Linked DNA regions of Homo sapiens: region 2 is linked to region 1. Evidence: promoter capture Hi-C in human tissues and cell types (Jung and others, 2019). All regions are on one chromosome and are shown on one strand. Each heading gives the region's core, a stretch centred on a gene start or on the middle of the fragment in contact. The rest is flanking DNA. Distances are from core to core; before and after follow the strand shown. Region 1 holds the start of RABL2B (RAB, member of RAS oncogene family like 2B). Region 2 overlaps SHANK3 (SH3 and multiple ankyrin repeat domains 3).

What was found. The method cuts DNA at HindIII sites, captures the fragments that hold promoters and counts their contacts. A contact is called where the count stands out against the background at its distance.
Region 2: a fragment that was not itself captured here is called in contact with the fragment with the promoter of RABL2B in region 1 in 2 of the 25 tissues and cell types used here (dorsolateral prefrontal cortex and mesenchymal stem cells).

What each region holds. Positions count from the first base shown.
Region 1 is chr22:50,781,762-50,786,452 of GRCh38, forward strand. It overlaps RABL2B (RAB, member of RAS oncogene family like 2B), which reads right to left and starts at 1,875. Exons shown (of 9, transcript NM_001130919.3): 1 at 1,740-1,875; 2 at 427-586. The coding sequence starts at 533. It also overlaps the pseudogene RPL23AP82. RefSeq lists a silencer at 1,807-2,046. The HindIII fragment of the contact is 9,824 bases long and covers 1-3,507 here.
Region 2 is chr22:50,724,250-50,729,750 of GRCh38, forward strand. All of the region lies in intron 24 of SHANK3 (SH3 and multiple ankyrin repeat domains 3), which reads left to right. Among named protein-coding and RNA genes, the nearest start is that of ACR, 11 kb to the right of the region's middle. RefSeq lists an enhancer at 14-73. The HindIII fragment of the contact is 4,655 bases long and covers 1,295-5,501 here.

The DNA of each region.
Region 1 (4,691 bases), core at 625-3,124:
TGATTATAGTCAATCGTCAGTTCTACCCAGTTTTCTCTATTTCAGAGAGTCCCTCCAAGAAAGCATCTTTACCACCTTTACCCAATCTGTCACGGTGGCATAGTCACTTTTGTCTTTCCATTCCCACTCCCCGCCCTTGCCATCCCTCAGCCCACAAACCACATACAATGTCCTCAGTTGCTCCACACGTTCTCTCAGGGCTCAGAGGAAACATTCAAATTCCTCAGTCCTTATGACCTGCCCCCTCCACCTGACACACACAACGGCTCACGTGATTCCCCTCGTTCCCCCATGAACATCTGGGCTCCAGCCAAGACTGCTCCTTCACCAGCCCCAAGAAGCCATGCTCCTCTGCCTCTGGAGGACTTTTTAAATGACCTGGACCCTCTCTGGGGCTGGTATTTATTCCCTAATCTCCCAACATACTTGGATTTGCCCACTGCGCTGTCTCCCAGGCAGATGATCTTCACGTTGTCATCAGCATCATACTTCCCTTGGTCCAACTCACTCGGTTTGGTTTTGTCTTCTGCCATTGGCTCCTAGCTGTAGAGAGGGGTCCAGCCCAAGGGAGGGGAGGGTATTGTCACTGTCTGGGAAGATCAACAAGAGGCTGTTGTCAGAGATAAGTCCCCTCAACCAAATCTCCAGCTGTACCTCCCTCCAGACTGCTTCCCTCAGTGCCAGACTGAGATATGGTATGCAATTGACTACTAGACTTGGAGTAGCAGAGTATGACACACAGGCATCAATAATATGTTATACACAAATAGTTAAGTCCTGCGCACCCCAAATGCTGCTCCTCACGTTACCCATTTGCACAAGACATTCACCAGGCATCCAGTGCCAAAGGCTGTGTGCAACATTATGTCTAGCTCTGTTTTACTCTCCTCACACCTAAATATGACTTTGCAAACATTCCTGAGAATGTAACCACAGTCCAGACTCTTAGCTAGGGGGGCACATAGAAATGATATGATGATGAGACAGCAGCAATAGGTGAGCCTTACTGGGCATTCACCATGAGCAGACCTTGCACAGGGTTCAGAGGATGGAAGACACAATGATAGCAGAGTCTACTGTGGTGAGAGCTACGACAGAAGTATGCACACGGGTCAGGGGTAGAAAATACCAACAGGGCCCCCGAGTTTTCCTGACTGTGCCACCACACAGCTACTGCTTCTGCACAGCCAGGGACTTCGCCTTGTTTATCCAGGGAGACAATTCCTGGGAAGTGGCAGATGCCTGGAAAGCATGATGAGGGGTCTGCCCCCTTTCACCTGTACCCTGTAGAGAGAGCGACAGAAAGCCAAATCCAGCTTCATGGCTCCATGCTTGAAGACGTTCTTTCTTTTGTTTAGAGATAGGGTCTCACTCTGTCGCCCAGGCTGGAGTGCGGTGGCGCGATCACGGCTCACTGCAGCCTCCAACTCCTGGACTCAAGCGATCCTCCCTCCTCGGCATCCCTGGACTATAGGCGTGAGCCACCGCTTACGGGCGAAGACTTGCTTGTCCGTGTCCTTGCCATCTAAGTGGGTAAGCTATCTTTCGATAAATGTTTTTGGCCACCAACCATGTCCAGGCATCGCCAGGCTGCCCGTCCCGCCCCCCACAACAGCCTCGCGAAGCCACCTTTCCGTGCTTCCCCCGACCCGGACGCCCTCTCGCCCACACCGCTAGGGAGGCCTCGGAGGGGCTGTCCCCGCGTGCTAAGCCAGCCACCGGGGCGGATTTGCCCTCACGTGCGGTTCCGAGTGAGGGCTGGAGAGACCAGGGACGCTGCGGGTCGGCCCCTCGGGCCCTGCCGCCAGTCTGGACTCTGCGCGCTCTCGAACCACGCCCGCCGGCCCAGCTCGCGCCGCAGCGCACTCCACTTCCGGCTCGGCCCGCGTCCTCGCAGCTGCTACGCAACCGCACAAGGACCCCGAGGGAGGCTGCCCGGCCGAAGGCCTGAAGGACCCCGCCGGGGCGCTGGCTGCCCAGCGCGGCGCCTGGCGGGAGGGCCGCAGGGAGTGCGCATGCGGCCGAGTGCGGGACTGGGGCTCCTGGCTGTGGGTGTGGTACCGAGGCTTCAGCGGGTGCCGCCCGCCTAGAGGGAGTGGAGCGGTGAGCACGTCAGGGGTGGGGGGCGCAGGTCAAGCTTTCACCAGTTTTTAATTCTTTGATGGGGTAAATTTGAGCAATTTTCTCGACTTGTCGACATTCGTTATTAACTGAGCAGGAATCAGGAGAGGAACCCGGTCCTCTCCACACAGCCCAGCAGGTACGCCGCCCATGTGCCTGTGGAGAAGAGAGGTTCCTGTGGGGCAGACAGGTGTGGACCAAGTAGCTGCGAAATTTCTTCTGAAGAAAACACACAAGGGGGAAGCGAGTGAGCTCAGTGGAGGAGGGGCGCTACCCCAGGGGACGTCCCCATGCATGGGCTTGTGAACCTCGAATATGTGAGACGGTCTCAGTCAATTTAGAAAGTTTATTTTGCCAAGGTTGAGGACGCACGCCCGTGACACAGCCTCAGGAGGTCTTGACATGTGCCAAAGGTGGCCGGGACACAGCTTGCTTTTATACATGTTAGGGAGACAGGAGACATCAATATATGTAAGATGAACGTTGGTTCCCTCGGGAAAGGCGGGACAACTCGAAGCAGGGAGGGGGCTTCCAGGTCACAGGTAGGTGAGAGACAAACTGTTGTATTCTTTCGGGTTTCTGAATAGCCTCCGCAAAGGAGGCTATCACATATTAACCTATCTCAGTGAGCAGAGGGGTGACTTTGAATAGATGGGGAGGCAGGTTTGCCCTAAGCAGTTCCCAGCTTTTTTCCCTTTAGCTTAGTGATTTTGGGGCCCCCAGATTCATTTTCCTTTCACAGGCTAGACAGCTTTAGGAACTGAAAGGTTCACGAGGCTGTAACGAAGAGTCGAGTTGCTCCAGGTGAGCCTGGGCCACAACAGCACGCAGGACCTGGGCGCCCACGAGGGGCTCCTGGGAGGGTTTGGGAAAGGGATGTGTGAACCCTATCTGAGATGGTTTCAGGTAATTTAGAAAGAGGTGCACCCGTGACACAGCCTCAGGAGGTCTTGACGACATGTGCCCAAGGTGGTCAGGGCACAGCTTGGTTTTAGGGAGACATGAGACATCAATCAATATATGTAAGAAGTACGTTGCTTCCATCCAGAAAGCTGGGGACAACTGGAAGCAGGGAGGGGGCTTCCAAGGTCACAGGTAGGTGAGAGACAAAGGTTGCATTGTTTTGAGTTTCTGATTAGCCTCTCCAAAGCAGGGAATCAGATATGCACCTATCTTAGTGAGGAGATAGGTGACTTGGAATAGAAAGGGAGGCAGGTTTGCCCTGAGCAGTTCCCAGCTTGACTTTTCCTTTAGCTTAGTAATTTTGGGTCCCCAAAATTTTCCTTTCAGAGAGCCTACGACTAGATTTGCATCTTTACGTCCTGCGCGGAGGCTGCTACACACATGCAGAAGTCATGCTGGTGGCCTGGACAGTGAAGGGAGAGAAGTGGATTTGGGAGACATTTAGGAGGTAAGATTGCTAGGACCTTGGTGATAGCTTGGACATGGAGGGTGGAGGAGGAGGGGTGTCTAGCAGATAATGCTCTTAGGTTACCACCTGGGATATTAGGGAGAGTGAGCAGGCTGTTTTTTGTTTCTTAGGCAGAACTTGGTTTTGCGGTGCAGTAGGGTGCCTGGAGCCGAAAGCCTGACTTCCTCATACAGGCCAGACCCCACATGTGACTGCCAGGCCACTTTGAGGCTGAGAGAGATGGTTTTGTCTGGCCTCTGTCCTGCACGTGTTTACGGATGACCTCTGTGTTGGCAGATTTGGGGGTCCGCCAGATAGGATCCTGTGAAGAGACCTCAAAGGTCTTTAGTCCAATCTATAAAACATTTTTATGTTGATTATATCATTTCCACAATCAAAGATGAAGAATATATACAGAGGTGTATTTAGTGAATAAGGTTGATGGTGCACCTGCGCTAGGCAGTGTTTTAGTTCGTTGAGACACCAGGGAGTTGAGACAATCCTTTACCTCAGAGTTTTGTGTCTGTAAGTCCTGCTGTTGAGAGGTGTGTGTGTTAAAATGTCTGATTTGGGCAGGTGAGATCTGGGCCCTCTGTAAGGTTAGGTAACAGGAGGTTGGTGTCCAGCAAATATTCAGTGCCCCATCAACATCCCAGTTCTTGTCCACCAATCTTCCAATTCTAGGACTGATGCGGAGGCCCTCAGAGCGACTTCAGAGGAGAAGTAGTATGCTCTGTGGCTATCTTGTTTTGGAGTGTAATTTGTAAATCCTCTGCAAACAAAACGTTGGAAACAAGTAGTGTTTTGGCTTGAGTTTCCTGTAAACGGCTTACAGTCGTTGGGTTAGGGTTGGGTTAGGGTGATGGTGAGGGTGGGGGGTGAGGGTTAGGGGTTAGGGTTAGGGTAGGGTCAGGGTTAGGGTCAGGGTCAGAGTCATGGTTAGGGGTTAGGGTTAGGGTCAAGGTCAGGGGTTAGGGTTAGGGTTTAGGGTTAGGGTTTAGGGTTAGGGGTTGGGGTTAGGGGTTGGTTAGGGTTAGGGGTTAGGGGTTAGGGTTAGGGTTAGGGTTAGGATTAGGGGTTATGGTTAGGGTTATGGTACTGTAAATAATTTCACATTATTACTAATAATAAATTATTATTTGTATTACACTATTACATA
Region 2 (5,501 bases), core at 2,372-4,871, 56 kb before region 1:
GCACTTCCCCTTCTCTGAGTTCATCCTCCCACGGTGCTCTTTAGCATTCTGTCTTGATCAGGGTACGGTTCTCTTAGCCCTTGGCTCTGGCTTTCACCAGGACCCTGTTTGTTTTTCTTTCTCAGATGTGGGATGGGGAAGGACAAGACCAGCAGCCCTGACCCTTACGTGACGTCTGTTCTTTTACTCAGTAGTTCCTGCAAAATTCTGATCTCTGATTGGGTTCATGTGGGTCCTCTGCTTTTCCCTGACTGATCACTGGGGTCTGGGGACATAGGGCTGTCATCGGCCAAGCTTGAGTCCTCTGTTCTCCCAGGAGCCAGGGGGATGGGTCCGCCCACCTAGCAAGCAGGTGCTGAGAGTGAGGGGAGGGGGCTCTCCAGATGGAAGTCCAGTGCTGTCCCTTGAGTAAGTAGATGCTGGACAGCCTGTAGCAACCAATGTTCTGTGACACGGCCCCCACTGGCATCAGCAACTCACTTCCTTGCCGGTCATTGGCTTGGAGCCATCAGAGGGCCCTGATGTCGGTGCTCAGGAGGTCACAGCTTAGTGCTGTATCCCTCCCCTGTGAAGTGTATTTACAGCGAGCCAACTGCACAGGCTATCGCGAGGCTGCACACGGCATCACCTGTGAAGCACCTGGTAGGCCCAGGGCTGGGGCCTGTGGACCCCTCACTGGTGTGAGCTGCCATTGTCTTTGCTGTCACTGACGACACCTAGGTGAGGTCTTAGAGTCCTTTGTGGGAAAACAAGCCTGTTGGATGCAGCACTGGAGACGGTCCTGCCGTATCAGTTTGTCTTCACACCGTTCTGTTAGACGGACACTAACAGAATCCTCATGTTCCAGACAATGAAACTGAGGTACCAGAGAGCTTCCTTGCAGACAGAAAACGGTGGTCTGCCTGACCATGAGCCCTGCTCTCTGGCTGCCGTAACCAGGGCCGCTGTTGTTAAGCCCCTTCTGATGACACACAATGGGCTTTTGCCCAGTAACGCCCCTCCACAGAAGTGGCAGGTGTGTGCATGGCACAGACTCACCCCCGCTGTTTACTGGTCATGTTTGTCATAAGTAGCACCTGGTGCCACCTGAGTGGCCTACCCGGGCCTGCTTTTCCTTCTCAGTTTGCCTCTGTGTTACCTTCTGTTCCAGCTCACTCTTCCTTTCACCCTCTTGCGCTCCTTCTCGCCCTCAGACCTGGGCTGAACTACAGCCATCTGGAGGGGCCCCTGCCCACCCTGGGCCCTTAACTTCCGGTGCTTCTGGCTGCAGGCAGCGGAGCGGAGCACAGGACACTTGGTGATGTCTGAGTCCAGTCCTGTTTCAGATCTGGTCCTTGTGTGCCCACCGTGGCTGTTGTCAGCTCTTGTCCTGCGGCCCCTAATGGCTGGAGTCCGGTACTCACTGCTCACTTAGGGATAAAACTGCTGGTGGAACTGCCTAAAGTGTGGGAGGTTCTGACATCCAGGTATGGCTGCTTCCTTCCCAGGGCCAGTCGTGGCAGAGGCGCTAGGTCACCCTCAGGGCCATACCCTGAGCTGTGTCTCCAGCCCCTTGTGTTCCACAGTGTTTGTCTCCCAGGCCCATCCTTCTCCTCCCTGACCGACACCATGAGGAAGGGAATGCCCACCCACCTTTTCCAGAGATGGCTCATTCCTGATGTGCTTTAGCCACAAGGTGTTCTGTGGCCTGAGAGCTTTCTGGACAAGTTAAGCTGTCCTGTATGTCGTGGAACCAAAGCTCGGTAACCTGTGGAAAAATGATGAGCTCTGGGGCCACCTTTGATTTTCAGGGGAACCTGGAGGATGTGGCACTCTCATGCTGCCTCTGGAAGGTCCAGGACCTTCGGCCTTTTGAATCCTCGATCCCAGATTGTCCACCTGCTCTGTGCTCCCAGCTCCAAGTCTAGCTCTGCTGGACAGACCATTCATCTGCCCAGAGCCCCTCCTCGGTCTCTGGGCCCCACACCTGACTCTGAGGCTACATTTGGGCATGATTCAGACCTGACTCCGAGCCCCACAACTGGCCACAGGCACCCCATCTGTCTGAGGCTCTCACTTGTCTCTGAGACCCTGGCTTCACACCTGGCTCTAAACTCCATTTGTCTTCCAGGCCCCGTGCTCGGATCTGAATCCCATGTGGGGTCTGAGGTCCATAGTAAGGCTCACGTCTGCCTTGGCACTTAGCTTTACATGGGACTCTCACATCTGGTTTTGTAGGTAAAGTTCATGGCAAAGTAGCTTTGGAAACACAAAAAGAGGTTCTTTGCTGCAGTACTTCTGGTGCCTTTGACAAGCTTGTGTGGAGGAGGGCACTGTGTGCCGTGGTCTCCAGACCTGCTAGAGTCAGTTCCTAGGTCTCCCAGAAGACCCATGTTCCTCAAAATGGTCAAGAAGCCCTGCCCTGGTGGCCTGCTGCAGACCCTGCCTGCTAATATATTTGTCAGGGCTCTGGACAAAGCACTGTGTGCTTGGTGGATCACACTGGTAAGCAGGGCCAAGGCCAGCAGGGCCTGCTCTTTTGAAACCCAGACTGAATGTGTCACATACCTGCCAGTGGGGGCCCCTGCAGGCCACATGCAGCTGGGGCAGGTGTGTTCCCAGGATCCCTGAACCCTGTTCGGGGAGTAGGAAGGAGGTACAGAGGAGGGGTCATAGGACACTGGGGCCCATCAGAGCTGGAGCTGGGAACAGGCGGGGTGCCGAGGAGCAAGACGTGTTACCGCAGAGGATGCACTGGAAGCTTCCGAGCCCATGTCTGGTTTTGTGCTCCTCTGAGAATTAGTTCCCTTAATGAGGCCCCTAGTTTGCAAAAGGCCACAGGCCTAGACCGGCCCCACGTGAGTGCAGTGGCAGAAGGCCCGAGGCAGTATCCCGGGCCCGAGTGTGGACATTTTCCTGCCTGTTGGCCCTAGTGGGCTGACTGAGTTGGGCACGCCTGGCAGGGACATGTCATACATACTATTTTTGCATTTTGTTAGTGCATCTCGTATTCCTGGCTTTGTGCTAGGTACCAGGAGGCAAGGAGAACTGGTAAGAAGTGGGGTGAAGGGCCTGAGACCATGAACGGTCTGGATCCAGAAATGGCAAGGGGTAAAGAGAAGGTCTGGGTTGATATTAGGAGTTAGCCATTGGCTGTAGGGTAAAAAGAGGAGCTGATGGTGGCTCCCAGGCTCTGTGTGTGGCAATGACAGGGTGCCGTTCACTGAGTTGGGGATGGAGGGACATGTGTGGATACCCCAGTAGAGGTGTTGGACTCATCAGAGGCTGTCTGGGTCTCACATGTAGCATTCCTGGGCACACTGGCCATAGCAAAGGGTGTGAGTGGATAATGTTGCCCAGGAGAAACTGCAAACTAAGAGGGGAGCTCTCCGAAAATCCATCTAGGAAGGAAGAGGCCTGGGAAAGAATGTCTCGAAGGGAAACATGAACAGGTCAGCAGCGGGGTCTTGCTGACCGCCTGGCCAACTGTGGGGCAGAGGGCGGAGTGGGGAGGGTGTGGCAAGGCCAGACCTCTCTCACTGGCTGAGAGTCACTGGGAAACAGTGAGACGGTGCAGGATTCAAATGTAGGTGGAAAGACGTGGGGCCGTGGGGGCCTCAGTGTGATCTGGACTCAGCCTCTTCAGCGTGGCTGCTGGAGGTGTTCGTGGGTGACGGTGCCTGGTGAAGTATCATGTGTTAGAGGGTGGGTGGCCCAGAAGCTCTCTGGGAGGCTGGCAGGTGCTGTGATGTGGCTGTTTGGCGGCCGGAGCCTGGCCAGGGAGGTGGCCAGACGGCTGAGAGTGACAGTGGGTGTGCAGAGAGGCCATGGAAACATGGAAGTCAGACATGGACACTGCTCGGGTTTGTGCCCTGGGGATGGTGTGGGCAGTACCCTCTTCCCCAAGAGAAAGAGGAGAAGCAGACACCTGGGCCATGGGTGACCCCAGGCCCCTCCCTCCTGTGCCCTGGGGCCTTTGGCAGGCACAGCCTTCCTTGGGCGTTTTCTCTTGGCCTCCTGACATCTCCAGCATGCTCTGGGAGGCGGGAGCAATGTGAATGGCTCTCCTCACATCTCTTGCCCTCGGGCCCCTGGCTCCGTGGGTGCCTCTGGAGCCAGCCTGCCCTCTGCCCAGGTCTCCAGCTCAGCCCCTGCCAGTACTACCCAGACAGGCACAACTCTGCTCTGCCCAGCTCGGACCTCCTGGAGCCCAGACCCTGCTCTGGGCTCCGGCCGAGCCTCCTGGCTGCGCTGCCCGCGCCTGCCCTGTGCCTCTGCCTTCACTGCTGTGGTCCTGCAACTCATCAGTGTGCTTCAGTCACACCTGAGACTCCAGGTACACCTGCCATCACAACTCCACTGAAAGCTAAGCCTTGGGGCAGGGGCAGGGCCAGGGTAGGTGTCCATCCTGTGATACAGGTCCCCAGGCCAGGGCCACTTTGTTGGGGCTGGTGGGTGGAGGCCAGGTGCATATTCCTGGTCCTGCCCCTCTCTGGGTGTCCACAGTCAGGTCCCTCTGAGTGATTCTCTCGGAGTCTCCTCTGGCAAGCCCCTCCAGCAGTCACCACCACCTGGGCACCCACCCCCAGGGGACCCCCCGACCCAACACCACCTGGCACCTCCCCTTGGGAATCCCCCCAACCTTGGCTGCCTCCCCACTTTGGCCCACTGTGCAGGTGGATCCATGGAGGCCAGGTCCAATGGGAGCAAAGACAGCTTATTCTGGTGGTTGGTGCCTGTGCTGAGGCCCACCTCAGGTGTTCTTGAAGCCCCTTTCTGTTTGGGGGCACAGTGTGGCCTCTTCAGGAAGTTCTGCTCTGGATCTGAGCAGCTGGGAGGAGGCAGTAGGGACAGAGGCTGAGGAGAGGACAGAAATGAGGTCCCATGGGAGAGACAGAGCTCAGATCTCCACAGAGGGCTGACCTCTCACAGGTGGGAGACAAAAGACGAAACCTGCTTTAAGGGGAGCCCCATGCGTGTGTGGGGCAGGCACTGGTGATGCTGTGTGGTGAGGACAGCCTTTAAGGGGAGCCCCATGCCTGTATGGGGCAGGGACTGGTGATGCTGTGTGGTGAGGACAGCACAGAGGTTGGGGTGGGGGGACTCAGCCTGGGCAGGGGCAGGGAGAGGGGGTGGGAGGGCCACTGGAGAGGGGCCCGGCCAAAGAGGATGTCAGGGGCTCAGCACCCCCAGGCGGCCAGGCACCTGCCGAGCACTGCAGCCACGCTTGTGGTTCACCTGCACTTGGAGACTCTCGCACAGGCGCCTCTCCTCCACCAGCAGCTCCAGCTTTGTCCCTCCCACAGCAGCTGGGCCCTCTGCACCTGAGTTCCTCCCTCCACACCTGGCTGCCCATTGTGTGGTTGCAGCTGTGGGTCGCGTGGGCCTGGCCGGCTAACTCTCTCTCTCATTGCTCTCTCCTGCCCATCTGCATGTGGCTGCTCTGTCGAGCTGCGCCGTGGTCCCGAGCGCCGGCTGTGTAAGTGAGCATGCCCATCCCATGCCTCTTGCCGTCCACACGC